Regions from separate parts of the Homo sapiens genome. Here all the other regions are linked to region 5. Evidence: promoter capture Hi-C in human tissues and cell types (Jung and others, 2019). All regions are on one chromosome and are shown on one strand. The core of a region is centred on a gene start or on the middle of the fragment in contact, and the rest is flanking DNA. Distances in the headings are between cores, read along the strand shown.

The links. Contacts are between HindIII fragments. The study calls those that stand out against the background at their distance.
Region 1: a fragment that was not itself captured here is called in contact with the fragment with the promoter of NUAK1 in region 5 in 5 of the 25 tissues and cell types used here (H1 embryonic stem cells, IMR-90 fibroblasts, adrenal gland and 2 more).
Region 2: a fragment that was not itself captured here is called in contact with the fragment with the promoter of NUAK1 in region 5 in 2 of the 25 tissues and cell types used here (mesendoderm cells and thymus).
Region 3: a fragment that was not itself captured here is called in contact with the fragment with the promoter of NUAK1 in region 5 in 2 of the 25 tissues and cell types used here (heart left ventricle and hippocampus).
Region 4: a fragment that was not itself captured here is called in contact with the fragment with the promoter of NUAK1 in region 5 in 4 of the 25 tissues and cell types used here (heart left ventricle, hippocampus, mesenchymal stem cells and 1 more).
Region 6: a contact is called between a fragment that was not itself captured here and the fragment with the promoter of NUAK1 in region 5, in 3 of the 25 tissues and cell types used here (hippocampus, mesenchymal stem cells and mesendoderm cells).

What each region holds. Positions count from the first base shown.
Region 1 is chr12:105,912,984-105,917,927 of GRCh38, forward strand. No RefSeq gene overlaps it. Among named protein-coding and RNA genes, the nearest start is that of CASC18, 210 kb to the left of the region's middle. The HindIII fragment of the contact is 3,209 bases long and covers 1-2,990 here.
Region 2 is chr12:105,891,192-105,896,137 of GRCh38, forward strand. No RefSeq gene overlaps it. Among named protein-coding and RNA genes, the nearest start is that of CASC18, 190 kb to the left of the region's middle. RefSeq lists an enhancer at 4,635-4,946. The HindIII fragment of the contact is 5,401 bases long and covers 711-4,946 here.
Region 3 is chr12:106,296,261-106,300,854 of GRCh38, forward strand. It overlaps a transcript of TCP11L2 not described here. Among named protein-coding and RNA genes, the nearest start is that of TCP11L2, 4.2 kb to the right of the region's middle. The HindIII fragment of the contact is 6,180 bases long and covers 1-4,431 here.
Region 4 is chr12:105,979,858-105,984,800 of GRCh38, forward strand. No RefSeq gene overlaps it. Among named protein-coding and RNA genes, the nearest start is that of NUAK1, 160 kb to the right of the region's middle. The HindIII fragment of the contact is 6,624 bases long and covers 1-4,943 here.
Region 5 is chr12:106,136,630-106,141,287 of GRCh38, forward strand. It overlaps NUAK1 (NUAK family kinase 1), which reads right to left and starts at 2,325. Exons shown (of 7, transcript NM_014840.3): 1 at 1,785-2,325. The coding sequence starts at 2,024. RefSeq lists enhancers at 754-1,255, 3,647-4,266. The HindIII fragment of the contact is 8,166 bases long and covers 1-4,658 here.
Region 6 is chr12:105,996,774-106,001,507 of GRCh38, forward strand. No RefSeq gene overlaps it. Among named protein-coding and RNA genes, the nearest start is that of NUAK1, 140 kb to the right of the region's middle. The HindIII fragment of the contact is 9,600 bases long and covers 1-4,734 here.

The DNA of each region.
Region 1 (4,944 bases), core at 136-2,635, 220 kb before region 5:
GGCAGGACATCAAGAAAAATGACTTTGGGGAAACTCATGGAACAATGTATAAAGAAGGGAAGAAAGTCAATAATGAAATTGGTCCAATTTAAACAGCCTGGGCCAAGACCACGAGGTAAAAAACTTATTTCAAGTTACTTTCAACACTGCAAATAAGTCCCTATGATTTGTTTAGCATTCCAGAAGATAAAGAGCAATAAACAAATGCTTCAAGTGCAATACATTATTGTCAGAGTTATGTGCTTCAGTGATTCAAAGCTGGGCACAATACAATTCAACAGCACACAATAAGCTTTGTTCCTTCCATCCAACTACCGACATGCTTCTACCGTTGCATCAACAGAAAGGCTCCAGCCGTCGTAGTAGGTAATTTCTCTTCAGTCAATAGGCAAATTATAAGGGAAATAAATCCAACATTAGCATTAGTTCCAAAGGAAAGACATCTATTTTTCAATAGCCTATGTTTGCTGCCTCGGGCTTGTGTTGTCCAGACTCTTCAGAAACAATCTCTACTGTGTTTCCTTGAAGACATCTCTTTCAATACGCTTCCAAACCTTGATTGTAGGACACCCTGACTCACACTTGGCAATGCCAGTTGCTCACTCTCCAGTCCCACTGTTACCCGAATGCAGACTTTTCATCTCATGCTCAGACTTCTGCAATAGACTCTTAATTAGGCGCCCAACCTAACTCATTTGTCACTTAACATTCCTCTTTATACCTCTCTTGGCATTTTGGTTGTTACTGAAGACACATGTGAGAGGACCCATGATGTAGTGAGAATATTATCAACTTTGGAGTCAGACAGACCTCAGTTCTAATCTCAGGATGCCATTTCCAGCTGAGTCTTCTTGGGAAAGTGACTTGGTCTCCATGGGCCTTTGCTATCTCATCTGAAAATGAGACTAAGCCACAATCCAATAGGAATTTGTGTGCCTCCTGTGAGAATGTATGTAGGGTGCCTGGAACCACATAATGTGTAGACACTCTATAACTGGCAGCTGTTTAATATATAATATTCCTCCCTCTTACATTTTCCTATCTTGTCTACTACCAATCCCCTACATGAACCCAACTTTCCACCAGATTGGGCTACCTATAGAATATAGAATCTTTGGAGCTGAAAATAACTTTATCTAGTCCAAAGATAGGTTTATTTCTCCAAGTCAGCTTCACTAATTGGTAGTGGCCACTTGGAACTCTGAATTCAGAATCATCCCAATGTACTTTTGTAAATGCTATCATTGACTGGCCCATGTCATGGGAGAAGGGAGTGGTAGTAAATAAGGCAAATATATCTCACATCTGATCAAGACATTCATTCACACACACCCAGATATATCACCACTATCATCATCTAATTAGAATAGGAGCTTGGGAAACTTGTTTTGAAGCCACATTTGCATAAATATTACCTTGGTTTTCCTTAGATTATTATTTTTTCACATAATTTAGAGGAATGATGCTGATGTTGAAGATTTAATTCTCCCACCACTACCTACACTTAGGAGTTGAAATATTATGCAGCAGTAAGAAGCAATGGACTCAGTATACATACAGCAATGTAATTTATCCTAAAACACAGTGTCTAATGAGGAAAAGAAACAAAGTGAGACATACAACACGTCTTTTACAAAAATAAAAATATGTGTGCACAAAAGAACAATGAGATACCACTACACACCCATTAGAATGACTTAAATCCAAAAAACAAAAAATTGACAATACTAAATGCTGGTGACAATAGAGAGCAACAGGAATTCACATTCTGTTGGTGGGAATTCACAATAGTATATTGAAAGATAGTTTGGAAGTTTTTCTTAAATTGAAAAATAATTTTTTTTTATTTTAGATTGAATTTTTTTAATTGAAAAATAAAATTGCGTATATTCATAGCATACAGCATAATGTTTTCATATATGTATATACTGTAGAATGACTAAATCAAGCTAATTAACATATCCATTATCTCACGTACTTATTATTTTTTGTGGTGAGACTATTTTAAACCTACTCTTTTCATATTTTCAAATATACAATACATTGTCATTAACTATAATCACTGTGTTGTAGAATAGGTCTCCTGAATTTATTCCTCCTGTCTAACTGAAACTTTGTTTCCTTTGATCAACATCTCCCTAATCCCTTCACCTTCAAGACCTTGGTAACCACCATTCTACTCTCTGAGTTTGCCTTTTTTTGATTCCACATATAAGTAAGACAATACAGTATTTCTATTTCTGTGCCTGGCTTATTTTATTTAACATGCTCTAGGTTCATCCATGAGACAATTTCCTTGTTTTTTAGGCTCAATAATATTCCATTGTGCATAGATACCACATTTGCTTTATCCATTCATCTGTTGATAGACACTTAGGTTGACTCAATACCTTGGCTATTATAAGGAATGCTGCAATGGACGTGGGAGTGCGGATATCTCTTCAACATATTGATTTCATTTCTTTGAATATATACCCAGAAGTGGAATTGATGGATTAAATGGTGGTTCTATTTTTAATTTTTTGAGGAACTTCCACAGTGTTTTTGAGGAACTTCCATAGTGTTTGTCGTAATGGCTACACTAATTTACATTCCCACCAAGAGCGTACAAGAGTTCGCTTTTCTCCGTATTCCTCATCAACACTTGTTGATTCTTGCCTTTTTGATAATAGTCATCCTAACAAGTGTAAGTTCTAATTTACATTTCCCTGATGATTAATGATAATGAACATTTTTATATACCTGTTATCCATTTGTATGTCCTCTTTTGAGAAGTGTCTTTTCAGATCCTTTGCCCATTTTTTAATCAGGTTATTTGTTTTCTTGCTACTAAGTTGTTTGAGTTCTTATATATTTTGGATTTCAACATGTATGATTTGCAAATATTTTCTCCCATTCTGTAGGTTGTCTTCACTCTGTTGATTGTTTGTTGCGCATAAGCTTTTTAGTTAGGTATCATCCTATTTTTCTATTTTTGCTTTTGTTGTCTATGCTTTTGGAGTCATAGCTAAAATATCTTTGCCAAAACCAATATCAAGAAGCTTTTAACCTATGTTTGATTATAGTAGTTTTACAGTTTCAGGTCGTGCATTTAAGTATCTCGTCTTATTTTGAGTAGATTTTATATATGGTATGAGATAAGGGTCTAAGTTCATTCTTCTGCATATAGATATCCAGTTTTCCCAACACCATTTATTGAAGTGATTGCACAATGTTAAACACAATCTTACCATAAGATCCACCAGGTATACGTTTAGGTATTTACCCAACAGATATGAAAACTTACATCCACACAAAGATATGTATATGAGTGTATACAGGGACATTAATTATAATCACCAAAAACTGGAAGCAACTAAGATATACTCCAATAGGTGAATGGATAAACAAACTATGGTACATCCATATAATGGAATAATGTTGAACAATAAAAAGGAATGAGTTATCAAGTCACACAAAGACATTAATAAATCTGAGCCACATATTTCTACATGAAAGTAGTTAGTCTGAAATGGCTACATACCATAAGATTCTCTTATCTGACATTCTGTAAAAGGCAAAACCATAGAAACAGTAAATCAGTAAGTGGTTGCCAGAGGCTCAGGAGTGGAGAAAGTTGACTAAGTGAAGCACAGAGTTCTTTAGGGTGGTGAATCTACCTTATATGATGCTCTAATGGTAGAAACATGGCACTATGCATTTGTCAAAATCCATAGAACTTTATAGCACACAAAGTAAACCTTAACATATAATTTTGTTTCAATTATTTAGGAAGTTGGAATGGAATGCAAAATGTGACAAAGGAATCTAAATATATTACAAATGTATGAAACAACCTCATTGAAGGGGAATGAGAAGAATTAGATCTGGCCAAAGTAAGTCTGAAAATGAGTGGAGTCCATAAGGCTAAAGGCAAAATGAACTCTACATGGACACTGTACTCTAGTTAATAAAGTAGTTTTCTATGGGGTTATAGGTTAGTAATTTTGAAACCATTATCCATTACACTAGAACTTAACAGTTAAGCAAATGGATGGCAGATGTCAGGAGCCAGGTTTCTCACTATTGGAATCGGAGAACTCAGATAAGCAAGGGGAGTAGCCTAGAATGTGGCAATGGATTACAGCTGAAGACATCAGTATTAACTCAGGTTTAGCTTAACATAGACACAGATTGTGTTACACGTAGAAATATTTATAGGTTGTGTAAATATACAGGTTGGTATATGCACATATTTTTTCTTACTCTGTCAGCTAAAGAGGCACAGAAGCAATAACATCCATATAGCAATGAGCATATCTAGTGCCCAGATCTTGAGTTCTAATACTATTCCCCCCAGCAAAGCAACTAGTAACTTTTAGAGAAAAGGCTTATTCTAGGACTGAAGGATGAAGTATACAAGATGAGCCCATAGTATATTTTAGTGCCAGAAGGTAAGGAGGTGCTCAAAACAACAAAATCCACAATGACGAGATTTGTCAAAAGGACACAGAAGCCAAATAAAATAGTTCAAAAATAAATGTTTATGAGTTCATAAGCTATTGAACAAATAAAGAGTAGAATTTCTTCTAGAACTCCAAATAATTTATATAGATGCTCTGCCCTCAGAGCCTCACCACTTCAAAAGTGGAGGCCGTGCATAGTGACTTCCTTCCAAAGAATACAGCATGGAAAGGGGGAAAAGTGGAGAAGGCTGAGAAGCACTATCTCAGCAAGGTGGTTAAAATTGACATTAATAGCAATCAGTCATGTCAACAGAGGTATTTTTAATATGATGTGATGAGAGGGGTACTTTACCTCCCCAAAACACATTACTTTAGACTAATCATGACAAAAACATCAGACAAGTTACAATTGAGGCACATTCTATAAAATATCTGATCAATACTCTTCAAAGCTGTCAAGGTCATCGAAAGCAAAGAAAGTCTGAGAAACTTGTCACAG
Region 2 (4,946 bases), core at 2,161-4,660, 240 kb before region 5:
CAGTGGTGCAATCTTGAGGCTCACTGCAACCTCTGCCTCCCAGGTTCATGTGATTCTCCTGCCTCAGCCTCCCGAGTAGCTGGGACTACCGGCATGCGCCACCATGCCTGGCTAATTTTTGTAATTTTAATAGAGATGGGGTTTCACCACATTGGCCAGGATGTTCTTGAACTTCTAACCTCATGATCCACCTGCCTCGGCCTCCCAAAGTGCTGGGATTATAGGCGTGAGCCACCACACCCAGCTAGAGATTAAAGTTTTATTGGAACTCAACCACACATTCATTTGCTATTGTGTATGGCTGCTTTTGAGCTACTACAGTAGAGGTGAGTAGTTGCTACAGAGATCATGTGACCTGCACAACGAAAATATTTTCTTCCTGGCTCTTTACGGAACACTTTGCCAACCCCTGATAGATAGGATATGCCCTAGAAGAAGCTAGATCAGCCTGCGGAATCTCGGCCTCCTCTTGAAGAATCTTTAGGACTGATTGAAATATTTTTAATGAAGACCACATTTTTATTATGGTCTTAGCATTGCCAGCTGTAGAGACTGGTCTGGCTCCAGTGTCTTCTTCACTAGGGCCCCAGGTTTTCCTTGGTTTTAAATAAATTCTTTCTAGTTTCCCATTAAAAAGAAGATATTATGTGCAAATCACCTATGTGGAAAGGACATCAAATGCCCAGCAACCAACCAGGTAAAACTATCCAAAATGAAACACATGCAAAATAGTGGTTCTTTTGTATCTGATTTTTCGAAATGCAAAGCCAATTCATTCATTGGCTCAGGAATCATCATCCTAGCTGAACCAATAATGAATCATTCTGCTTTTATAGATTTTGCAAATAAAACACTTAAAAAAAAGAAAAAAAAAAAAAGAGTCTCGCTCTGTAGCCCAGGCTGGAGTGCAGTGGGGTGATCTTGTCTCACTGCAACCTCTGCCTCCCAGGTTCAAGCAATTCTCCTGCCTCAGCCTCTCAAGTAGCTGGGATTTCAGGTGTGTGCCACTACACCTGGCTAATTTTTGTATTTTTAGTAGAAACAGGGCTTTCACCATGTTGGCCAGGCTGGTTTCAAACTCCTGACCTCAAGTGATCTACCTGCCACTGTCTCCCAAAGTGCTGGGATTTCAGGCATGAGCCGCCGTGCCTGGCCAAAAAGCTATTTTTAAAAAATAAATCTCTTCTAAATCGAGGCACATAGGACCCATCCAATAAAGCTACAGAGAGCTCATTGGAATCCGATTCCCATCTCCTTTAAGAGCAGGACGCATCCATCCTTCTTGCTGGAACATAATTCATTCCAACTGCCTTTGAGGCTTAATTAATGGCCACCCTTCCCTAATGGAACAGTTAATCTCTCAAATATTAATTGTGGCTTATCTCAAATTCTGGCTTTGGAAAAAAATCTTGGATATCAATCTCCAGAGTGCTGAAGCTGCCTTTGTCAATTATACAAGGTAAAAGCCCAGAGAAGCCCAGACTCCCCTTGCCCATCTGTGGTGTTTTCTGCCTGCCCTAGTTTCTGAGCTTTGACCACATGGCAGGCTTTGCGATGGGTCAGCACTTGTGGACAGCTTGGCCTATAGTGCTACTAATTATATAAGCTATACTTACCTAGAAAGTAGGGGTGGTTTCTTATGAATCTGGCTACTATGATTATAAATTTAATTCCTAAAAGTAACCCAAAATGTGCATTTTTTTTCTTTTTTTATCCTAGTCCCTGCCCTCCCCTTAAAGCAAAGCACATATGCAAAACAACAACAACAAAAATATAGATGAAAGAGGAAAACAAATCTTTTTTTTTTTTTTTGGCTTGCCTAGTTTGTGCTCTATATACAGGAACTCAGTCTTCTCCCCAGCAGCCCTGTCAGGCTGTTTCTCATTTATTTTAATGATGAGGAAACTGAGAGGGTAAGTGACTTGTCCAAAGTTCCAGAGATAAGTAGCTGAACCAAGCTGAAGTGCAGGCTTGTCTTCTCCAAAGGCCACATTGGGATCATTAGATAACAAACACAAGAACAAAGAGCCAACCTATTTAAGGTTGACAGAGCAGAAAGATGGAGAGAATCTTGGTCCTTGGTGGAAAATTGAATAGTACAACCATTTGCCTACCCTCACACTTTGTACTATATAAGAAAAACAATGCCTTACTTTGAAACCATTTTTAGTTATGTGTTCTGTTGCTTGTAGCTGAAGGCATCCTTCCTTGATACACTACCTCTATAAAGGAGCAAACAGTTCCATCCACTTGGAATGTCCCTGGCTTGGCCTATAGCGCTACTAATTATGTAAGCTATTCTTACCTAGAAAGTATGAGTGATTTCTCATGAATCTGGCTACTATTATTATGAATTTAATTCCTAAAAGTTACCCAAAATGTTCATATTTTATTTTTATTTTCGACCCTAGTCTCTGCCCTCACCTCTCCCTTAACATTCTTGGCAAGCTTCTAGACAACACACATCCTTAAGATGCAGCTTAAAAGTCACTCTGTTCTTCAACTTTCCTAAAACCACTTCACCCACAATTAGGGTTCCCTGTCTTATGCTCCTGTAGTGTCTGCCTGTTTTGTCTGTTCTATTGCACCTTCATATTATATTGCAAATACTGATTTGTGTGTCTGCCTTCCCACCAGTCTATGAACTTGCTAAGGGCACAGGTCATCCTATATCCCTAATGCCTGGCACTGTAGTCAGCACCTAAGAAATGTGGAAGAAAGGGAGGGAGGAAAAAGGGGGGGGGGCAAAAAGACAGGGAGGGAGAGAAGGAGGGAAGGAGGAAGGAAATAAGAAAAAGAGTGGAGGGAGAGAGGGAAGGAAAAAGGGAGGTAGCAAGGCAGGCAGGATGGAAGCAAGGAAGCAAGAAAGGCAGGAAAGGAGACAATCCTTTTGAAGCAGGTGTGTCTGGATATTACACAGTTTGATGATTAAGAACATGGTCCCTGGAATCTGACTTCTCAGGCTTAAAGATCTATTCTACCACTTAACATTTCTGGAATTTTGACAAAATATTTAACCTAAATATAGCATACACTATAATTACTACACATAATGTAATAACCAAACCAGGGCATTTTTGATCATGAAAGGTGATAGAAAAATGTTAAGCCAGATGAGAGGCAGGGATGACAGGTGTAAGTGGGGACAATCTCAGGCAACTCAGAACAAGTGGTCCCCATCTATCTAACCTCCCTGGGCCTCAATATCTTCACCTATAAAATGGAGATATTAATAGTACCTACTTTTTTTTCTGTATTTGTTTTTTTGAGATGGAGTCTCACTCTGTCACCCAGGCTGGAGTGCAGTGGTGCCATCTTGGCTCACTGCAACCTCTGTCTCCAGGGTTAAAGCGATTCTCCCACCTGAGCCTCCCGAGTAGCTGAGACTACAGGTGCATGCCACCATGCGTGGCTAATTTTGTATTTTTAGTAGAGATGGGTTTCACTACGGCAGCCAGGCTGGTCTCCAACTCCTGACCTCAAGTGATCCGCCCACCTTGGCCTCCCAAAGTGCTGGGGTTACAGGCGTGAGCCACTGCACCCAGCCAATAGTACATACTTTATAAGGTTGTTACGAGGATTGAGTTAAATATAGTATGGGAAGCTCTTGGACCAATTGCCTGAGCCTTAGTAAGTACTGCATAAATGTTAGCCACCTTATTATGATTACAGATGGGAACACTGAGGACCAGAAAAGTTAAGTGACTTGCCCAAGGACACTCAGCTGGCAAGTGACAAGTCAGCATGCCACCCCAAGGCACCAGATTTTAAACCCAGTGCTCTTCCCATGACATCTCAGTGACTTCTAGACCAGTCCAGGCACTCTCTCAGTTTAGTCTACAGCCATGTCAACTAAAGCCGAGGTAGGGAACTGGCTGCAAGGCAAGGAGCCAAGTCAGGGACCCTGGGAGGCTACACTACCCGTTCAACAACCCCAGCGTTCCTTCTACCCCAGGCCAGATGCTCTTTGTTCTCTACCCACCCCCGAACCCTACCCACAGAAGCCAGTACAAGAAGAGAAAAAGGAGCTAGTTCCCAAATTCCCTTCCAGCCCAAGTGGCTGAGCCCAGTCCTCATCTACTCCCTGCCCTCTCTCGCCCCCATTGCCCACCCCCCATCACATGACTGCTGAGGCATTTGGCTTGTTTAGATTTTGCTGCTGCACGTTGCTGATAAGATACTGTATTAGTCCGTTTTCACACTGCTGATAAAGACATACCCAAGACTGGGCAATTTACAAAAGAAAGAGGTTTATTGGACTTCCAGTTCCACATGGCTGGGGAGGCCTCACAATCATGGGGGAAGGCAAGGAGGAGCAAGTCACATCTTACGTGGATGCCAGCGGGCAAAGAGAGAGCTTGTGCAGAGAAAATTCCATTTTAAAAACCATCAGATCTCGTGAGACCCATTCATTACCACAAGAACAGCACGGGAATGACCCACCCCCATGATGCAATCATCTCCCACCAGGCCCCTCCCACAACATGTGGGAATTATGGGAGCTACAAGATGAGATTTGGGTGGGAACACAAAGCCAAACCGTACCAGGCAAAAACTAAAAGAGCTTCTAGGCATCCAACACCGTTATACGGGTCTGCTGATACATGCCTGAGCCCTCATTTATTATACAAACATGTTGGCTCTCAAGTAATTGGAGTTTGTTTGTCCCCTTCCCCCTACTGGATCACAGCCCCTGTAAGCACCATGAGAATATTAAGAAGGTCTCCATAAATGCTTAGTGACAACTGGAAGGTGTTGAACTCTTAAGGATTAAGACAAAGAACTTTGGAATCAGATCTAAATTTGAGTCTGACTCCGTCATTCGCAAGCAATATAACCTGGGGAAAGGTAAGCTGCCTCTCCCAGGTTTGACTTCTAATCTATAACAGGATGAGGGTAATAAGAACTGCCTTGCAGACTCATGATGAAGGAAAGAGTTCATACAA
Region 3 (4,594 bases), core at 92-2,591, 160 kb after region 5:
AGGCACCCTTCTAGAGTAATGGAATGTGATTATAAATACTTTGGGCACTTAGTTGGTACAGAGCTGGTATGCTTGTTGATATGTTGTTATGGAAATTAGATAATTATGCCAATAGGTAATACTTTGCATGTGACACTGCACGTGTATATGTGTGTATTTGCGGAGAGAAGCCATGAAGTGAGTTCTTCTGGTTTCTATTCTTGACCTGCCAACTGAGTGAGTCACTGCTGAGTATCCCTTTAGTCAACATAAACCCTTAGTGCCCTAGTATATGACCTTCCTCTAGAATGCCCAGGAACTCAGGTAAAAGCTACTATTCAGGCATTTGAATGTTCAGAGCTCTCAATTTTTTTGTCTTCAAAATGTACGGCTGGGTGTGGTGGCTGATGCCTGTAATCCCAGCACTTTGGGAGGCCAAGGGGTGGATCACTTGAGGTCAGGAGTTCGAGACCAGCCTAGCCAACATGGTGAAACCCCATCTCTACTAAAAATACAAAATATTAGCCAGGCGTGATGGCACACATCTGTGATTCCAGCTACTCAGGAGGCTAAGGCAAAAGAATCGCCTGAGCTCGGGAGGCAGAGGTTGCAGTGAGCCGAGATCATGCCACTGAACTCCAATCTGGCTGACAGAGTGAGACTCTGTCTCAAAAAAAAGAAACAACAAAAAAAAGGTAGTATAATTATTAAAGTCCCATATAACTTTGAGAAAGGACATTTGTCCAGTTTATCATCAAAGAAAGGGAAGGTTTTAGAGGTCAGAGTTTGGGGCAAAAAACATGTTTAAAATGAAAGCAAACTCCATGCACTTTGGCTATCGAAGAATAGGGCTTGAGGAGAAGAACTTAAAAAGTAAAGATCAATATTCCCCCACCCAGCATTAATAATTTTGACATATCATAGTGAGGGACTTTTTGTAAATCTATTCTTTCATATATTTTACATGAAAAGCTCCATTTGTTGTCATGGCTTTCTTAAATATGAATAAAAAAGAGATGGGAAATTTGCTTATTGTGCAGTATCAATAGCCTATCTTCACTAAGGTATATTTAGGAGGACATACAATAATAAGAATAGTTGCATTGTATGGCAGTGTGAAATAGACTAGTAATATATGAATGACATTCTCATTGTAAAAGAAATAAGCTGCTTGAATGTGTACGGAATAAACCAGGAACTAACTTGCCTAAATAGCCTTCTAAACGGTTGAGATTCTTTTTAGTCCATTTCTATGTATTTCATATACACACAATGCATATGTACTGTCTCTAGTGTAAGCTCTCTCTAGCATAAATCGTGTCACCCCATAATCAGTGTTCTGTAACTCATGTTTTCATGTTGAATCGTGTACCTAAAAAGTCACATTTCTTAATCCTTCCTTTATGTTTTCTGGAGATTGCATCTTATTTTAGTAGCTCTTCCTCATGCCCATTTGACAATTTCATTTGATTTTAAAACTGAGGGCCTGTGTTCATCCATGAACACTTTAGAAAAGCAATCATTTAGAAAATGGTTGATTGCCTGCTGGCCTGGAGATGAGCTAAAGAGAGTGACTGGCTTGGTCAGAGGTCTGAGCCATCACCTGTTTGGCCTCCCATAGGTGTTCCTTTGAGCTTCAACTCTCTTTGGCCCCTCCCACTTCCTGCCCCAAAGTTGTCTTCACTGCTGGTTCTCACTCTTTCTGCTTCCCAGGGGACAACAGTGGTGCCCAGGTAAGAGGAAGGGGCCCAGGGTGGGGTGTAGGGAGCACTAAGAATATTTGTCTTTTTAGTATGTGACAGGGTCAGGGACTGGGCAGTGCCTAAATGTGAAGGTACAGGCAATTGAAATGAGAAATAACTGTTAATTTTTTTACTAATTCAGTTCAGTGGAGTCAAAAGAAAACTGGTTTTGGTGCTTTGGAAAATTGTTCAAGCATCAATTAATAGTCAAAACTGGTCAATTATCTAAATCTACCTTATCTTCCAAATCACAGGATATAGAACAAAAAAAAATTGCCTAAAAGGTGTGGTTAATTTTTTTTAATAGACCTTATTTTTAGAGCTCACAGTAAAATTGAGTAGGAGGTATGCAGTTAATTTTTGAACATTCAGGGCCTAATTCTCTAGTTGGTGTATTAGCCAAATTCATTTTCTTCTTTTTGCTTTCTATTGTATTTTCCCCCTCACTGATTTTTGGCCCTTTCTGTAGCACCTGAAGATGGACAGGGGAGAGAAAAGAAGTGGGATTCCTTTGAAAAACATTTTTTTTAATTTAATTTTTAGTTTAAAATTTTTTTTGAGACAAAGTCTCGCTCTGTTGCCCAGGCTGGAGTGCAGTGGTGAAATCTCAGCTCACTGCAACCTCCGCCCCCCAGGTTCAAGCAATTCTCCTGCCTCAGCCTCCCAAGTAGCTGGGATTACAGGTGTGTGCCACCACGCCCAACTAATTTTTTGTATTTTTAGTAGAGATGAGGTTTTGCCATGTTGGTCAGGCTGGTCTCAAACTCCTGACCTCAAGTTATCCACCTGCCTCGGCCTCCCAAACTGCTGGGATTATAGGTGTGAACCACCATGCCCGGCCATTTTTTTTTGTGAGACCAGGTTTCACTCTTGTTGCCCAGGCCGGAGTGCAATGGTGCAATCCTGGCTCACTGCAACCTCTGCCTCCTGGGTTCAAGTGATTCTCCTGCCTCAGCCTCCCAAGTATTTGGGATTAGAGGTATGCACACCATGCCTGGCTAATTTTTTGTATTTAGTAGAGACAGGGTTTCACTATGTTGGTCAGGCTGGTCTCGAACTCATGACTTCAGGTGATCCACCCACCTCAGCCTCCCAAAGTGCTGAGATTACAGGCCTGAGCCACCATGCCCAGCCCATTTTTTTGCTTTTTGTTTTTGTTTTTTTCAATTACAATGGAGTCACATCTTACAGGAGGGGTTAGGCTCTTAAGGAAGACCATGAGGTCAAAGTGCAGTGAAAATTACTCTTGAAAATTTTTTAATGAGCCATAAGACCTGGGATACACCAAGTTTTTGTCGTTTTTTGTTTGTTTGGGGCTATTTCTTTTCTTCCAGCATTGAAACAGACATAAGTTTCTTCAAGTGAGCACTGGTTGAAATAATTGATTGGCACTTAGGGGCAGGAAGATAAGCACCTTTAACCACTAGACTCATATTCTGTGTGGGGAGATCAGGACCAGTTACATAATTTGCCAGGTCCAGTGCAAAATGAAAATGCAAGGCCCCCTTTCAAAAAGCACAGTATTAAGAATCTCAACACAACAGCAGCAATGTATTAAACCAAGCACAGGGCTCTTCCAAGGGTGGGGCCTTGTGCAACTGCCCAGACTGCACGAACATGAAGCCAGCCGTGGGAAAGAAGCTTGGAACATAATGAGAAGCTCAGAAACTCAGATAAACACAGTAAGAGAAGCCTCACAACTCCCATAGAGAGAAATAGGGGACAAGATCACTGGAAGTATTTAAATTATTCTCTTGTGTTCCTCATATTCTGTCCTAGATGAGTCCCGTATAGCTAAATTTGCATTACATTAAATCAGTACAATATGCAACTCCACTAGAAAAGTTATAAGGCTGAGAGGTTGCAAATCCAACTGTAATTACATTTTTAGATTTTTGTCAATGATTTATTATAATTTAAAACTCAGATTTCAGATGTGTAAAAAGAAAATGAGTATTTCTATTTCTTCATCGAACAAAAATTTTGATCTGCCCTTAGTCTTTTGCCAAGAGTGATAGACCACATTTAGTCTACCGTGTAATTTACAGGGAGAAAAAAAAACTGTATTACTGTGAGTTCTCTAAGTGGTTCAAAAAGGTAAGTTAGAAAAACTAGGTGTAATAATATGTCTTCTTCAAATAAAATGCTAATTATTTTACTTCTAAAGAGGTTGCCTTTTCAGATTTTGTTGTTTTTTTTTTTTCCTCAGAAAGCCATAAACATAACCTGAGCAGGGAAGATTTTGTGTTATGACTGTCTGAGCCCTCTGAGCAACAATGTGATACAAGGCTCATTTTTGAGGGAACTGCCTTATATTTTACAGCACTCCATTTTTTCAAAGTGTTGTTTTTGTTTTGTTTTGTTTTGAGATGGAGTCTCGCTCTGTCGCCCAGGCCGGAGTAAAGTGGCGTGATCTCGGCTCACTGCAACCTCCACCTCCCAGGTTCAAGCGATTCTCCTGCCTCAGCTTCCAGAGTAGCTGGGATTACAGGTGCGTGCCACCACGCCCAGCTAATTTTTTTGTATTTTTAGTAGAGACGGGGTTTCACCGTGTTAGCCAGGATGGTCTCGATCTCCTGACCTTGTGATCCACCTGCCTCGGCCTCCCAAAGTGCTTGGATTACAGGCATGAGCCACCGTGCCTGGCCCAAAGTGCTTTTATACACAAGTCAGGCCAAGGGCAGTTGGTCAGGTAATTCACAGAAGGGTTTTCAGATAGCAAGTTATTTAACATTAAAGTAACAGAAGATAGTATTTCCAGCATCTTTTCTTATCTCAGCTTGGTTCTCTGATGTTACAGTTGAACTTGCTTTGACAAAAGCTGCTTTCCTGGTGGCTTTGAGAGCTACATATCTGAACTTTAAAAGAAGTGT
Region 4 (4,943 bases), core at 1,212-3,711, 160 kb before region 5:
GGATCTATTAAGCACGCAAAACTGGGAGGCCAGTGCAGGGGCTGAGATGGATTGGGGCAGGGAGATGCAAAAACAGAAACAACCCATTTCACAAAGCCTCACTTGTGGCTTTTTGAGTCCAGGGATGAAGGCAAAGCTGAAATTTGGGAAGTGGAGGCCCCAGTCCTTTGTGACCCGGTGCACATGCGGCAGACCTGCCCTTGGGTGCACTTTTGTGGCTCTGAGGGCAGGATTTGGGCTTTAGATAATAATTGCATAGATTTGCTCAGTAAACACAGGGCAACCGTAAGATAATTACATGTTCTTACAGAGATGGGGCTCCATAATTACCTTCAGTGGCCCTAAAGTATTATTTAACACATATTCTGGTTTATAAGACAGAAATAATGATGAATTTGCCTGGTAATTACACAGCACTTCCCCACTACATATCCTGCCAGTAGCTGATACTTAGCCCATCATTAAGGGGCTAGCAGTTGCTTTGGTAAATAAGAAGTTCTTCTCATTACTGGTCTCCAGGCACATAAAGCATGATTAAAATGCCATTAGTGACATTTCTCCAAAGGGCAAATCCACAAGTCTGTGTGAGAAGCCAACTTTCCTTAGATTAAATGTTTTATTTCTGTCTTTCTGACAGGAGCAATAGAAAGGAATCAATTCTAACTCAAGCATCTGCTCCCTGAAAACTTGTCCTTAATGAAACAGAGCAGACGATGCAAAATCTGCCCTGGCTCAGGGTCACAGGACAGGAGTTGCCACTGTTTTCAAGATGAAGATGATTCTTTAACTCATCCAGATGGCTCTGCCCAGTTGAGGAGGAGCCCAGGCCTGGCGCCACCACCCTGTGGTGGGCTGGGTCAGCACATTGAGGGCCAGGGCAAACCGCAAGCTCTGGATGGGTCTTGCTGGCAGCCTCCTCCTCCAAGGATGGGGCCTGAGAGGCTCACAGAGAGCTGGGGCTCTTTGGAGAGGGGGGCACCCTGGTTCTTGGGCCACTTGCGGGTACACATGAGGAAGGAATGTACACACATCAGATACCAAAGCAGGGAGATGCAAGCCCGGAACCAGTCTCTTTGTCCATGACAAGGACCCTCGGGAAGGCTGCCTGACATATTTAGTCCGGAAGGCAGTAATTTGAGGGGCCATGGCTCAGCTCTAACTGCCCTGAGCTCAGCCATTTGCATCAGAAAGAAATTGACTCTTTGTAATCAATAGAGGGCTTAAAGAGGGTGGTCAACCACTATGGCTGGTGGGCAGGACAGGGAGTGGGCCCTCTGGAGCAAACAGGGCTCTCGTTACCATTCCATTCCAAGCTATCCCATTACTGAAGGGAACGATTCAACAGCAAATATGAACTCAATTCCAAATCCCAGTGCCAAGGCAAATGGCCAGTCCCAGCGGCCTTTTTCTTTAGTAATGAACTCCAGGCCTCTGGCCTTGACTTTGGAAGTGACTTGACTTACCATGGAAGCCAGCAGAGAGTAGCTGGGAAAAGTTCAGAGTTAAAGTCAGAAGATCTGGATTCAAATTCCAGCCCTGCTCTTCAATGGCTGTGTAATATTTGGCAGTTACCTCTATCGAACTTCAGTTTCTTCATTTGTAAAACAATTTGAAAAGACTATTAAGTTCCGTTAGGCCAGAAACCACGCCCATTCTATTCATTGCTGAAGTCCCCACACCCAGCCCAGTGCCTGGCACCTTCTGAATCTATAATCAACATTTTTAATTGAATAAGACTAGGGAAAATTCATTGCACAGTTAATTTACATAAATCCATTCATTTGCATTCAGTAAAAAGCAAAGAGAGAGAAAGAAAAATAACAATTTAAAATAATGATTTAATTAGTACTGAAGATGTTGCTTGATAATCCACTCCAGGCATCTGTGCCCCAGAGTAATACCAAAGCCAGATATGCGGAGTTGCTCTTCTCTAACTTCCTGTTTGTGAGAATCTTGTACTGAACCCATAAAGGTATACTTCAATATTGCACTGTAGAATATATGCTCTCACTAAATAATATGCAATGTGTTACTATATCCATCCCACATAATTTACAAGTATTACTGCATTTGGCTGTAATCCGAAAACTTTTTAAACTCTACTTTATGGATGATTTATAGGAGGTTCCAGGGACATTTCGATTATACCCAATTTTTGCTTTAGATTTGACCTCGACAGCCTTACCCTGCAGCATTTGGGTTATGTCACAGGGTCACTGCAAGTGAACCGGAATGTAACTATTGTGATCTAGAAACACTAGATAAAAATAGCTGGTATCCTGCTCAGTGCTTTTCTGCACAGCTACTTAGCCTGGTCAAGGTCAAGAGGCTTGATTACAACCCAGACCTCTTGACTGCCGGCTTGAGTGCTGGCAGGCACAACACGATTTCCCTCAACAAAAACTTGTTGAGTAATTATTAGGCACTCAGCAAAGTGCCAGCCACACAGTGTTGTGTGAGAGAAATATAAGGCAGAAAGCACTGGCCACCAAACGCTCAATGATTTGCACAGACGAAATAAGCACCCAGCTGGCCCCAAAGTATGCAAACCTTGGCATTCTACCTGAAGGCGGAGGCAGCTACTGGGGAGCCTGAGGTGGAGAAGCAGTCATACACATGCGGTATCACCCACCAGTCCTTGCTACCAAGACCCATTTCTTCCCTACCCTAAACTGCCTGTTAACTGTTGAATTTTTTTTCCCAATTCAAAGCTTTCTTGTTTCCATTTTATTTCACTGTGTTTCAAATGAAGAAAGGAAATACAAGGTGACTTTTGCCTTTCATATTCTAACCACATCCCACTCCATGTCCTCTACTGCCCAGGAAGTCCCTCCAGACACAACCAGCAAGGCAGAGGAGGTATGTACAATCCTACATTCATCAATGAAGTGCTACAGTGAACAGAGAAGGGGACATGGACTGAGGTCACCAGGAAAACCTCCATGGGAAGGTCAGAGTTACAGAAAGGCCTAAGATGAACTTGACCTTGAGAAGCAGACTATGAATTATATCTGTTGATTCTTCTTGTGCCACATCCATTCACCCTCATTCTCATAATAGGATCCTGATACCCTTTGGGGAAAGACCCCATTGCATGGCCCTAAGAATGAGCAGGGAACCCAGGCATGGAAAATCATGGGAATCTCATCCCCTTGACTACTGTGATTAGCTCATGGATGAACATGTTTGTGTCCCAAGATGGCCTAATCAGTCCCATCCCCAGGACTATTGCAAAAGAAGCAATCTCTTTCTATAAAGTTGCTAACCTGGTAGCCTGAAGCAGCCAGGGACAGATCATCCAGTGCCTGCCTGAAACTGAAGCCAATAAGGAAGAAAACATAGTCTAGACATGGAGAAATGGACAAAACCAGGTCCTAGAAAAATCACTGGAATCCCTGAATCCAGCAATACCTGACTTTGATGTCAAATGGTCCTGGATTTTTAAGTTACATTTTACTCAATAACTGTAGCTTGGGGATTGCTTTTTGCGGTTTTGCTTTTTGCTTAAAGCCAGTCCAAATTGGGTTTCTTTCATTTGCGGTGGAAAGAGCCCTAACAAATTGACTCATAAAAAAGAGAAATGGCGGAACAAACATGGAGAACAGCAAGAGCAAGGACCTAGGGACAAGGGTATGGGTCTTTTTCTCAAGCATATACATTGAGAATCATAGAAGATAAGAGGCCAGGGAGCATATTATGAAAATATCATGTGATAGGAAGAGGCATTTGGACTTCCCCTGAACTTTTGAGAAGCAAAATCCAGAGCTGAAATCAGGAAAATACATGCCTAGACCCAAAGGTATCTCATGAACTGGCTGGTCCAGTTGCTGTTCCTCTCACTCAGGGAAACATCTGCCACATGCCAGATGCTGTACATCTGTGGTTAGCATTGTTCCTTTAAAGAATAACACAGATTCTTCTCCAGGCGAGCCAAACATTTTCATTAGCTGTGGTCAGGGAGGGAATCAGGCTCCTTCAGATGAGTTTCAGCTGACACACTCCTGTGGGGCACGTCTTTCAGGGAAGCTGATTCATCTTCAGTCGGTCAGCTGTGAGGGATGCACACCTGTGTCCTAGGATGACTTTGAGGGAGTGGGGGACAAAAGACCTTGCTGGGCTTCAGCTGCCTCTGCAGATGCTCTTACACTGGGGCTGACACAAGTGCAGCCACGCCCAGCGGGTAGCCAGCAGTAGGGTTGTTCAGCTCCTAGGAACCCCCACTGAGGGCTCTTCCTCTGAGTTCTGTCCCAACCAACAGCTGGAGTTGGGGAGACTGACATCTGGGCTTGATTTGATGCCCCACTTATCCTCCTCTCAGACGTCCACACACTACATTCTTCAACCATTGCAGAATGCAAGTTGCTCGAAGTTACTTTGATGGTCAGGGCTCAAACAGGGATAGAGGTGCAATCACATCATGCCTATATTTGACAAGAGAATTCTGCTCCATGTGCTGAGAGAGACAGAAAACAAAACAGACTGAAAGAGAACAATATAATGGGCATGGACTGAGTGACCTGAACTTCCATCCCACTCACAGGGCAGATGCTATAGTGAGTATGAGATGGTGTGTGTGAATCTGTGGTTCTCACGGTTAAGTCTCGGTTCCTGCAAGCCTCTCGCTGCATCAGTAGCTTGCCTGGCTGAGTATACTGTCGTGTTGTTTAATGATGGGGATACATTCTGAGAAATGGGGCGTTTGGCACACTCATCGCCATGCATATATGATAGAGTGCACTTACACAAACCTAGATGGTAGAGCCTACTACATACCTAGGCTGTATGGTCTAGCCTATTGCTCCCAGGCTGCTAATCTGTATAGCATGTGACGGTACCAAATGCTGTAGGCAATTGTACACAATGAGAAGTATTTGTGTATCTAAACATATTTAAACATAGAAAAGGTACTGCAAAAATACGGTATTATAATCTTATGGGACAAT
Region 5 (4,658 bases), core at 1,075-3,574:
CAGACCCTAGACACACCCTTACCACTTCAACAACCCCTCATAGCCTCACATTCTCAACCTGCAGCTCGAACTGCGTCTGTTTTTCATTATTCTGCTTCCCACCTTCCCAGTGCGATTCTTCAGCAGCTATTAAGACAACATGAGCAGGGATCTAAGCTTAGTTTTTGCTTATTCAACATCCAGCCTGGGGAATATCACCTCAGAAGAAAAGCATGAATGAAGTGCACGTTTCCCAGCCTCTTCTTCCACAAACCTGAAATTGCCTTCATCAGAGGCCACCCTTACAACCCTCCCCTTTAACAATTTCATCCTACGAAAATGGCACCTGCCCAGAGTGAATTCTCAACTACTTGCTTGCTGTAGAATTTATTACAGAGCCAGCTTTAAAAAGAAATGTACGCCATCTCAAATTTCCAATTAATTGATAACAGATTTTTTTTTAAAATAACGTTATGGGACGAAGTTATATAGACCCAAACATCAAATCTGAGAAATGGGTTGGGAGGGCGTTATCCGGGTATCCAGATATTTGAGAATTTGGGGACTGAACTTTGCTGACTGGCACCCCCATGTTTTTTTCACAGAACTGTTCCTGCCGAAATGCAAAAGAAACATGTCAATACTAAGCTGCTATTTTATTTGACAGCTCATTTTCCTTTTTCCCTGCAGTCATTTGTTGTTTATAAGCAAACCTGAGCCTCCAAAACACCCCCAAAAGTGCACACAAGGAGTCCCATAATCAGTTTCTGACTTTGGCCCTAAATCGATTAGAATACATCTGATCTGCTTCAAATCAAAGAACCATGTTAATTTTCTGCCACACACCACACAAAATCTTTCTGCAACAGTCAGTCACTTTGAACCCAACTCTCTAGCCACAAGCAGTGTGGATTTCAAGGGCCTGTTCTGCAGAAGTGAAAATAACAACAAACCAAGGCTGGGACAAGGCAGACAGACCCCAAGGCACTCAAAGCACTCCTTGGAGCTGTGCAAATGGTGCCAGGACCCTGGCAGGGTGTCAGCTGTCACAAGAGCAGCGGGGCCAGACCCCTTCAGCGGTTTGGTAGCCCTGCAACCAGGAGCTGAAACACAACTGAGCCTGCTGCAACTAAGCACAGCTATCTCTGTAGCTACCCATGCCCTGGACATTTCGGTCCTCCCAAAGCCATGATGCAAACTGTTAGAATCCTCAGGCTTGCAGTAGTCTTTATTTTTGCTCCCTAACCTTGTCTCAAAAACAGGCAAGAGTCGCCCTCCCTTGCAGTCACAGCAGTATCAGGGCGATGCAGAGTCTGAGTGGGAGGATGCAGAGCAAGGAGCTGCGGGCAGATGGGTGGAAGGGGGTAGGGACACCTACAAAACACCGGACTTGAGGGGCTAGCTCCTAGCTGGGAATGTGGTTCTTTGGAGAGTTGTGGAAATAAGACGTTTCGGGGCATGGTCTAAATGAGTGCCTGCGAGGGAGAGAGACCCCGGCCGTCCCAACGCTGCAAAGTGTTTGCAAATCTAAAACATTCCTTTGCTGCTAGGATTAAATTTTTAAAAACAAACCAAAAAATAAAATAAAATATGTGCAGACAGGATGTAACAAGTGTTTCAGGACAGAGACACGCCTGAGTCACGGGGTGCTGGAGAAAGAGTGAGGAGTCTGTCTCGGGGCTTCCCAATGAGCCCCCTCTCTGTCAAGAGAGCCCCAGGGCGCACAGACCCCCGCCTCGCACGCCCTCAGTCCCCGGCCGCGTCCACCCAGCGCCCCCCGCACCCTCCAGGATTGCCCCACTCACCACTCGGCCAGAAAACCTCTCGGTGGCCCGCTTGACTTTGCCGTAGGTGCCTTTGCCCAGGGTCTCCTGCAGCTCGTAGCGGTGCTTCAAGTTGTGCTTGTGGTGATGCCGCTTCACCCCGTGCGGCTTCCTGGGCTCCAGGGCTGCAGTCGCCCCCGCCACCGCCTCTCGGGGAGAGCCCGGCGCCCCCAGCCCCAAGTCGGGGCGGTCCCCCGCCACAGGCGCGGCGGCCCCTTCCATGTCCAAGCGCGGGGCGAGCCGGGCTACAGAGGGCAAGACCGGGCACAGCGCTGGGATGTCGGGGTCCCCACCGAGGGAAGCCGCTGTACGCTCAAGGTCGCCCCCGCAGCATCAGGGAGGCGGCCCGATACCGCTCGGACTGCGGCTCGGTCACTGGCGGCGGCGGGGACTGCACATCTGGCGCCCGCGGCGCGCACGGTCCGCGCACCGCCCCCCGGCCGCGGCGAGCTGTGGAGCGTCGGGCGAGGTGGCGGCGGTGGCAGGGGAGGCGGTGGTGTTTGCAGGAGGGAGGGGAGAGGGTGGCTCGCAGCGCAGGAGGGGGAGTGTTATGTGGGGCGCCGCGCCCCCCAACCCCTCCCCGGGAGGACGCGCAGACGGGGCGGGGGCGGCGCTCGCGCGGCCCCAGGGGAGGGGGAGCGAGGGGCGGTGCAGCCAGGGCTTCCCCCACCTCCCTGCAGCCACCCGGGGCCGGGGCCGCCGTGAGCTGGGAGGGGGATGGGAGCGTGTCGCGACTCGCCCTTTGTGCGGCGCGGCGTAGGCCACGGCGGCGGCGGCGGCGGCGGCCAGGAGTGCTTTGTCCTCGCTGGGCCGGAAGGGACCGGGAAATTCCAAGCCGGGCGCCCCCTCCCCGGGCGCTCTCGGGCTCGCCAGTCGCAGCTACCGCGGGCCCTCCGCCGCCTCGGGCTCCGGGGCCGGTCGCTCGGCCTGGATTCCTGCTGGCGCCGGGGCGGCGGTTGCGGCTGGCCGAGCCCCGGGGCCGGGGAAGAAAGAGCGCCGCGAGCCGGGGGCCGCCGGGACCTGCTCGCGATACGGCCGGGGCCGCCGCGGGCCTGGGCGCCCCTTCATTTTCTTGTAGGTGTCGCCGCAGCCTGGCGGCCGGAGCTGGGGGAGGGGGCAGGGAGGCCTGGTGTTCGGTTACAGGCGGTGACTCACGGACCTTGCCCGCCCGAGGCTGGCACCCCGCGGGGCAGAGCTGCGCCCGCCTGGGGCAACTCCGAGTCCAGGAGAACCCCAAGAGCGGCGCTTTGGCCCCGGCCCCCGCGCCCTCTCCGAAGAAAGGAGAGTCAGGGACGGAGGGAGGCCGGGAGGCTGAACCCCGGGCCCGCCGTCGAACCGCCGGCCCTCCGACACCATCTGGACCCCGGCGGGGACAGCCGCCTGGAAGGGGAGGAAGGCCAGGGACGTGGAAGAGATGGGGCTCTAAAGGCGCCGGGACGGAGCTGGCTCCCCAGAGGCGCCCACCCTGCCAGCGAAGGCCGCCATCGGAGGTGGGCAAACCAGGGACCTGGGGTGGACCAGGACCCCGGGCCTGCTGAGCAACCCGTTTGCTGAGCAGGAGGCGATTTGCAGGCCTCTTGCCTCCTTAGGCCTTGGGAGATTTCCTTTCACTGAAAGGGCCAGATCCTGGCGATGGTGACAGGAACGGTACCCCGCACGGTAAGGGTCAGGCAGGAAGGGCCTCCCACCGCGGCGTGGCTGCCGCCGTTCTAAGAAGAGACCATGAAAAATAAGGAAGAAGGCTAGAGAAAAAGAGGTCTTAGGGAAATTTTTTTTTTTAACAAGTGGTGCAATGTACCAGACTAGGGTGGGAAGAGTGAAGGCTGAAGAAGGTCTGGTGTTCTGCAGATCGCATGGCGGTTCTTTTCCACCAGTGGACCTCACTGGGGCCTCCTCTGCAGCTCTCAGGTGCAGCCCTTCCTCTACATTCCCGCCGCCTTCATTCCTGTCTACCCCTGGTCACCTTACCCCGGACTCCAGCAACAGCCCGCTCTCCCCAACCCTCCCCGGGAGCCTCCTCACTGCTGCCAGAGTAATGGCCTGAAACACTGCCCTCATCCTCCACACGTGTCTCTGCTGTACTCTGACGCGTGATATTCTTACCTGTCCAAACTTTCCTTCTACTGATATTTCACACAAACTTCCCTGCCCCTTCTTCCCTTCCCCAGGAGCAATGACAGAACACAGACACAAAGGCGCATCATGCCTATTCAATTCCTATTCTGTCCACCGCATTTGCAGGGCCTCCCTGCCACCCACCCCCATCCTGAAACTGTTCTGCTTCTATACAGTTTGTGGACGTTGTGCCTATAGATCCCACAGTCAGGATGAGTGGCATGCAGGTTGAGTCCTGGCTTCCCAGAGGATTGGCTGTGTGGCCTTGGTCAAATGACATAACCTCTCAGAGCTTCGGTTTTCTCTTAAGATATGGATTTAGCAGATCTATTGTAGAGATAAACACATTGTGTCTACAGTAGTATTTTAAAATATTTTCTACTTCTTCCCCTCCCCTGCGATGTGGTAGAAATCCACTACCCCATCCTCTTGAAGTTAGATGAGACCATCGGACTTGCTTAGGCCAATGGAATGAGAGCAGAAGTGATTGTGTTGCTTTCACTTGGAACCTTTAGGAGCCAGTGAGCAAATCCCCATGTCTTCTTTTTCCTATCTTGACAATCATGGTGGTACAAAGTTGGAGCCTCCCCAAGCCAGCCTGAGTCTCTGTGTAAAGATGGCAGAAAATCCCAGCCAATCTGCATTGGAAAAGTAGTGTCAGCAAATATTAAACTTTATTTATGTTAAGTCAGTGGGATTTGTTAAAGCAGCATAACCTGGCTTATTCTGGCTGATAGTGTT
Region 6 (4,734 bases), core at 2,103-4,602, 140 kb before region 5:
TAAAGAAGTTCAGGAAAATTCAAGATAATATAAATAGAAAATTAAATAAAACTTCAAAAACAATTAATGAATACAATGAGAAGTTTGACAAAGAAATAGAAACAAATAGAAATTCTAGAGATAAGTAAAAGAATAACTGAACTAAAAAAATTAATAGAAAGTGTCAACAACAGATTTGATCAAACAGAAGAATCAGTGAGTTTAAATGTAGGACATTTGAAATTGTTATATCAGAGGAGCAAAAAGAAAAAGAATAAAGAAGTCCTACAGGAATTATTGGACACCATCAAAGGAACCAACTTTCACATAACAGAATTTTTGAAAGAAGAGAGAGAGAGGAAAAGGCCCAGAAAGCATTTGCAGTGACCTGGATGAGATTGGAGACTATTATTCTAAGTGAAGTAACTCAGTAATGGAAAACCAAACATCGTATGTTCTCACTGGTATGTGGGAGGGAAGCTATGAGGATGCAAAGGCATAAGAATGATACAATGGACTTTGGGGACTTGGGGGGAAGAGTGGGAGGGGGCGAGGGATAAAAGACTACAAATATGGTGCAGTGTATACTTCTCAAGTGATGGGTGCACCAAAATCTCACAAATCGCCACTAAAGAACTTACTCATGTAACCAAATACCACCTGTACCTCAATAACTAATGGAAAAATAAAATAAAATAATAAAAATTTTAACAAAGGAAAGAAAATAATGGCTGACAGTTCCCCAAATCTGAGGGAAATGACAATATCCAGGTACAGGAAGCTCAGGGATCCCCAATCAAATTCAACCCAAAGAGGAGTTCACCAAAAAACAAGATAACCAAATTATCAAAAATCAAAGATAAAGAAAGAATACTGAAAGCAGCAAGAGATAAGAACATATCACATTTAAGGGAGCCCCAGTACAGCTATCAGTGGATCTCTCAGCAGAAACCTTGCAGACCAGGAGAGAGTGGAATGATATATTCAAAGCACAGAAGGGAAAAAAAAAGGCCAACCAAAGATACTTTGCTTTCTCATAAAATTTAGGTCTCTTATAAGCATGTGAAGTAGATACTGATTTTATTCCTATTTTATGGAGGAAGAAACCAAGGCCTAGGGAGGTTGAGCTACTTGTCCAAGTTCACACAGCTTGTAAATAGCAGAGCTGGGTTTTGAACTCAGTTCAACTAGCTTCCCAAGTTCTTAACCACCATGACTGCATTATCTATTTTTATAGTATCCCAAAACTATTGGTTAATACATTATTACTGATATAATAATTATAAACACAGTGACCATATCATGGGTGATGAGTTTGCTAGGCATTTTTCTAAGAATGTATTTCTTATTTAATCTTACTTATTTAATTCTTATTCCTATTCTTATTCCTTATTTAATCTAATCTACTTGCAAAATGTATTCCTTTCTGCAAGTGCTGTGGAGTGAGTACTCTTAGCCACATTTTGCAGACAAGAAAACTAGGCTAATGCAAAGTAAGTGGTAGAGCTGGGATTTGAACCCAAGCCTACTAATTCCAATGGTTGGATATCTCCAACTCCCTCCTGGTATTCATGTCGTTAGCCATTAGACTGTCTGCGATTCCTGTTTTGACTTTGCCTTTGCCTTTGCAGGTGGAATAAATACCTCTTCTACTCTCCATGTTCTGCACTACATATTTCTTGGGACCTACGGTAAGGAAGATTATTGGGAAAATACAAAGAATTAATGTTGATGCTGTCAACCTCTACCTTCTAGTATATCTATCCAGGATAGCCCTGGCTTTCTGCCCTTTTCTACAAAATCATCAGATAACACTCCCATAAGGACCTTCAAATTAACAGACACTGTAAGAATGCTGCTCTGCTAGCATACCCTTGGTTAGAAAAAACTGTGAACTGGGGTGTAATCCCATTAATGAGAAGAATGGCTTCATCAAGTGGAATCTGTTTGAAATCATCCCTGTAAACAACCCCTAAGCAACAGAAGGAGAAGGAAACATATGCAGAGAAAGAAGTCCAGATGCTAAGGAGAATGCCTTTTGGCATGTAGGTTTAGAACCTCCAAATTATATCACAAAATCTGAAAACAACCACACACACAGTCGGAAAATGAATAATTCAGAGAGATGACTCTAGGTATTTTCCAGAAATAAGTGTGTTACACTGTTCCCATTAGAATCAACATTGTCAGTGTGAGGCTTACACACTAACTGAGCTGGTAAATGCTCCTGCATATAATTTAAGCAATCAAGGAATGATAGTAATAGCCCCTAACATCTGCATAAATGTATGGTGTGCAATACTTTTTTGCATATATTATGTTACTTTATCTTTACCACAATCCATTGAGATCTACAGGACTTCCATTTAGATATAGTAAAACTAAGGTTCAGATTTTAGGTTTCTTGAATTCAGTCCATTGTTTTTTTTCTATTGCTCTTAACTGCAAATAATAATGATAGTAACAATAACAACAATAATAAAGGATGCTAAGGAAATGGCGTGGGAAAGCAGATATACTCCCTCCACAATTCTGCCTGGGTTGTGCCTGGTGTATTGGCTTATTGTACTTAATAAGAGATGATGAAAAATGAGTTAAATGGTTGTGATTCCTCCCTTCTGTATGATTACAGTTAAATAAGGCAATAGTGCTGCCCATCTAAGGAACAAACACTTATTTATTCATCAATACAAGGATATAGGGCTTTGCTGGCACATAAGAAACTTTTGTGCAAATTACAAAAAGATGCCTTGCCCACTAAACTGACACAATGCCAGGCAAAGACACAACTACTAAGAAACACAGCACTGGTCAGATATTAGCTCCCACTTGCCCTGTAGGCCAGGAACACTGTCCAGTGCACAAATTGCACAGTCAGAGGCAGAGACTAACCCTCTAGAGGAGTAGACATATATGAATATTATTACAGCAGTCTAATAAATATCATTAAAAGAGATTTGAGAAAGGCACCACAAGACATAGTGAAGGGAGTGGAGGTCCGTTTAAATTTTTACTTTCCATACTACCATTGAGGTTTGAGAAAGCCCAACTCATGCCACCCTTTTTCCCTGCTTCTGAATCAATTGAGAGAGAAAATTTTAAAAGGAGCTAACATTAGAGAAAGGTCTATGGCCAAGTAAACTTCTTCATAAGAAATCCCAGAATCAGACCAACTTACCCACTTGGTTAGTTGCAAACAGTGTTGGGTTGTCACTGGCTCCACACTGGGAACTAGCTGTGTAAAATTCAATTTTTGGAGAAGCTAAGCAGAATGTGTGTTTCCTGCAAAGTGGATTATATAACAGAGAAAAGGGGAAGAAGGGTTTGTGACACTGATTCCCAGTTCCTTTTCCCAAGTTTACTAGTGAAAAATTTACTTCTTTTCACCTGGAAGGAATGAGGGAAGAGGTAGAGAATGTCCAGTAGCCTTACAGTGGCAGAGCTCCTCCCACATGAAAGAAACACTGGGTCGGGGGAAGAAGCCCACCCTATCCTCAGCCCCCACTTAATTATGATGATGTTATTCATTTCTACCCCCAGCACTCAACCATGAGTGGGAAATAGGTGTGTTTCTCTCTCCATTTCATCTCCAGCACCTATCACAGAACTTGGCACATAGTAGGCACTCAATAGATACTTGTTGAAAAATAATGATTACACACTGACTAGTAAGATCAGAAAGGCTTCCAGAAGGGAAATGGCACTTGAGTTAAGCCTTGAAGAATCAGTAGCCAAGAAAAAGTGATTGAGGGGAATTGCGCCATAGTTCAACGGAGATAGCAGGGTCTGTGACAAGGAAAAGACAGGAGATTGTAAAATATCCAGTATGTCAATCAAATGGGTTATTGGAATGCAAAGGGAATTAAGTAAGGATGACTCATGGAATAGTGGAGTAAGGTAAGAGTTACTACAACAGCAATTGCAACTTCCCATATATGCCTCCTCCAAACCTCCGATTTAAATCCCATTTAAATGGAGATGCATCAGAGGAGAAAAACATCTTCAACAGAGCAAACAAAAGAAAAGCAAAGATTAAATTAGAAGAAGTTCTGCTGACTTCTTTGTGGGAGGGGGTCCACTGGAAAGCACATTCTGGAGTCTTGTCTCTCATGCTCCACCTTGAACCAGAGCACCAGAACCCTCAAAGCCAACTCACTGACTCATTCACACTGTCTCTCCAAACTACACAGAAACTGCCTTTTGAGATAGCTAGATCCCTGATCCTCTCTTCACCCCATCAGCTCCTCCATCTGCAGATCATTCTAGAAATACTATTCCCAGCATTAACATGGCACTATCTCTAGATATTTGGGTGTGTTGCAAAGAAAACAGTTCTGAAAGGAGTGCAAGCAGGAAGAAGGGTGAAGGAGGTGGGAGGAATTTCTCAGGGCCTTTGGTTTTCAAAGATTACATTAAAAATGCCCTAATTCAGAGAACACATCAGTAGGAGCAGAAGACCACGTTGCTCAGGCATACCTACACTTGAAGGGCACACCTGAGCTTTGGGCTTACATCCCAGAGGAGGGGCCTCCTGTTATCCTGGTGGACACTAAGTGGCACTAAAGATGCTAATTTCTCCAGCCCTCTCTACTGGCAAACTTGAGGCTAGGATAGACCTAAAGCTCTTCACGGAAGGGTCAGCAAACAGAAAGAAAAACTATACATTTATGAAAAGATTCTGCAGCTTAAAGGACAGAGCAATCTTTTGAAGACTAAAAGTAAAACAGCACTGATAATAATTCTCTACAAGGCACA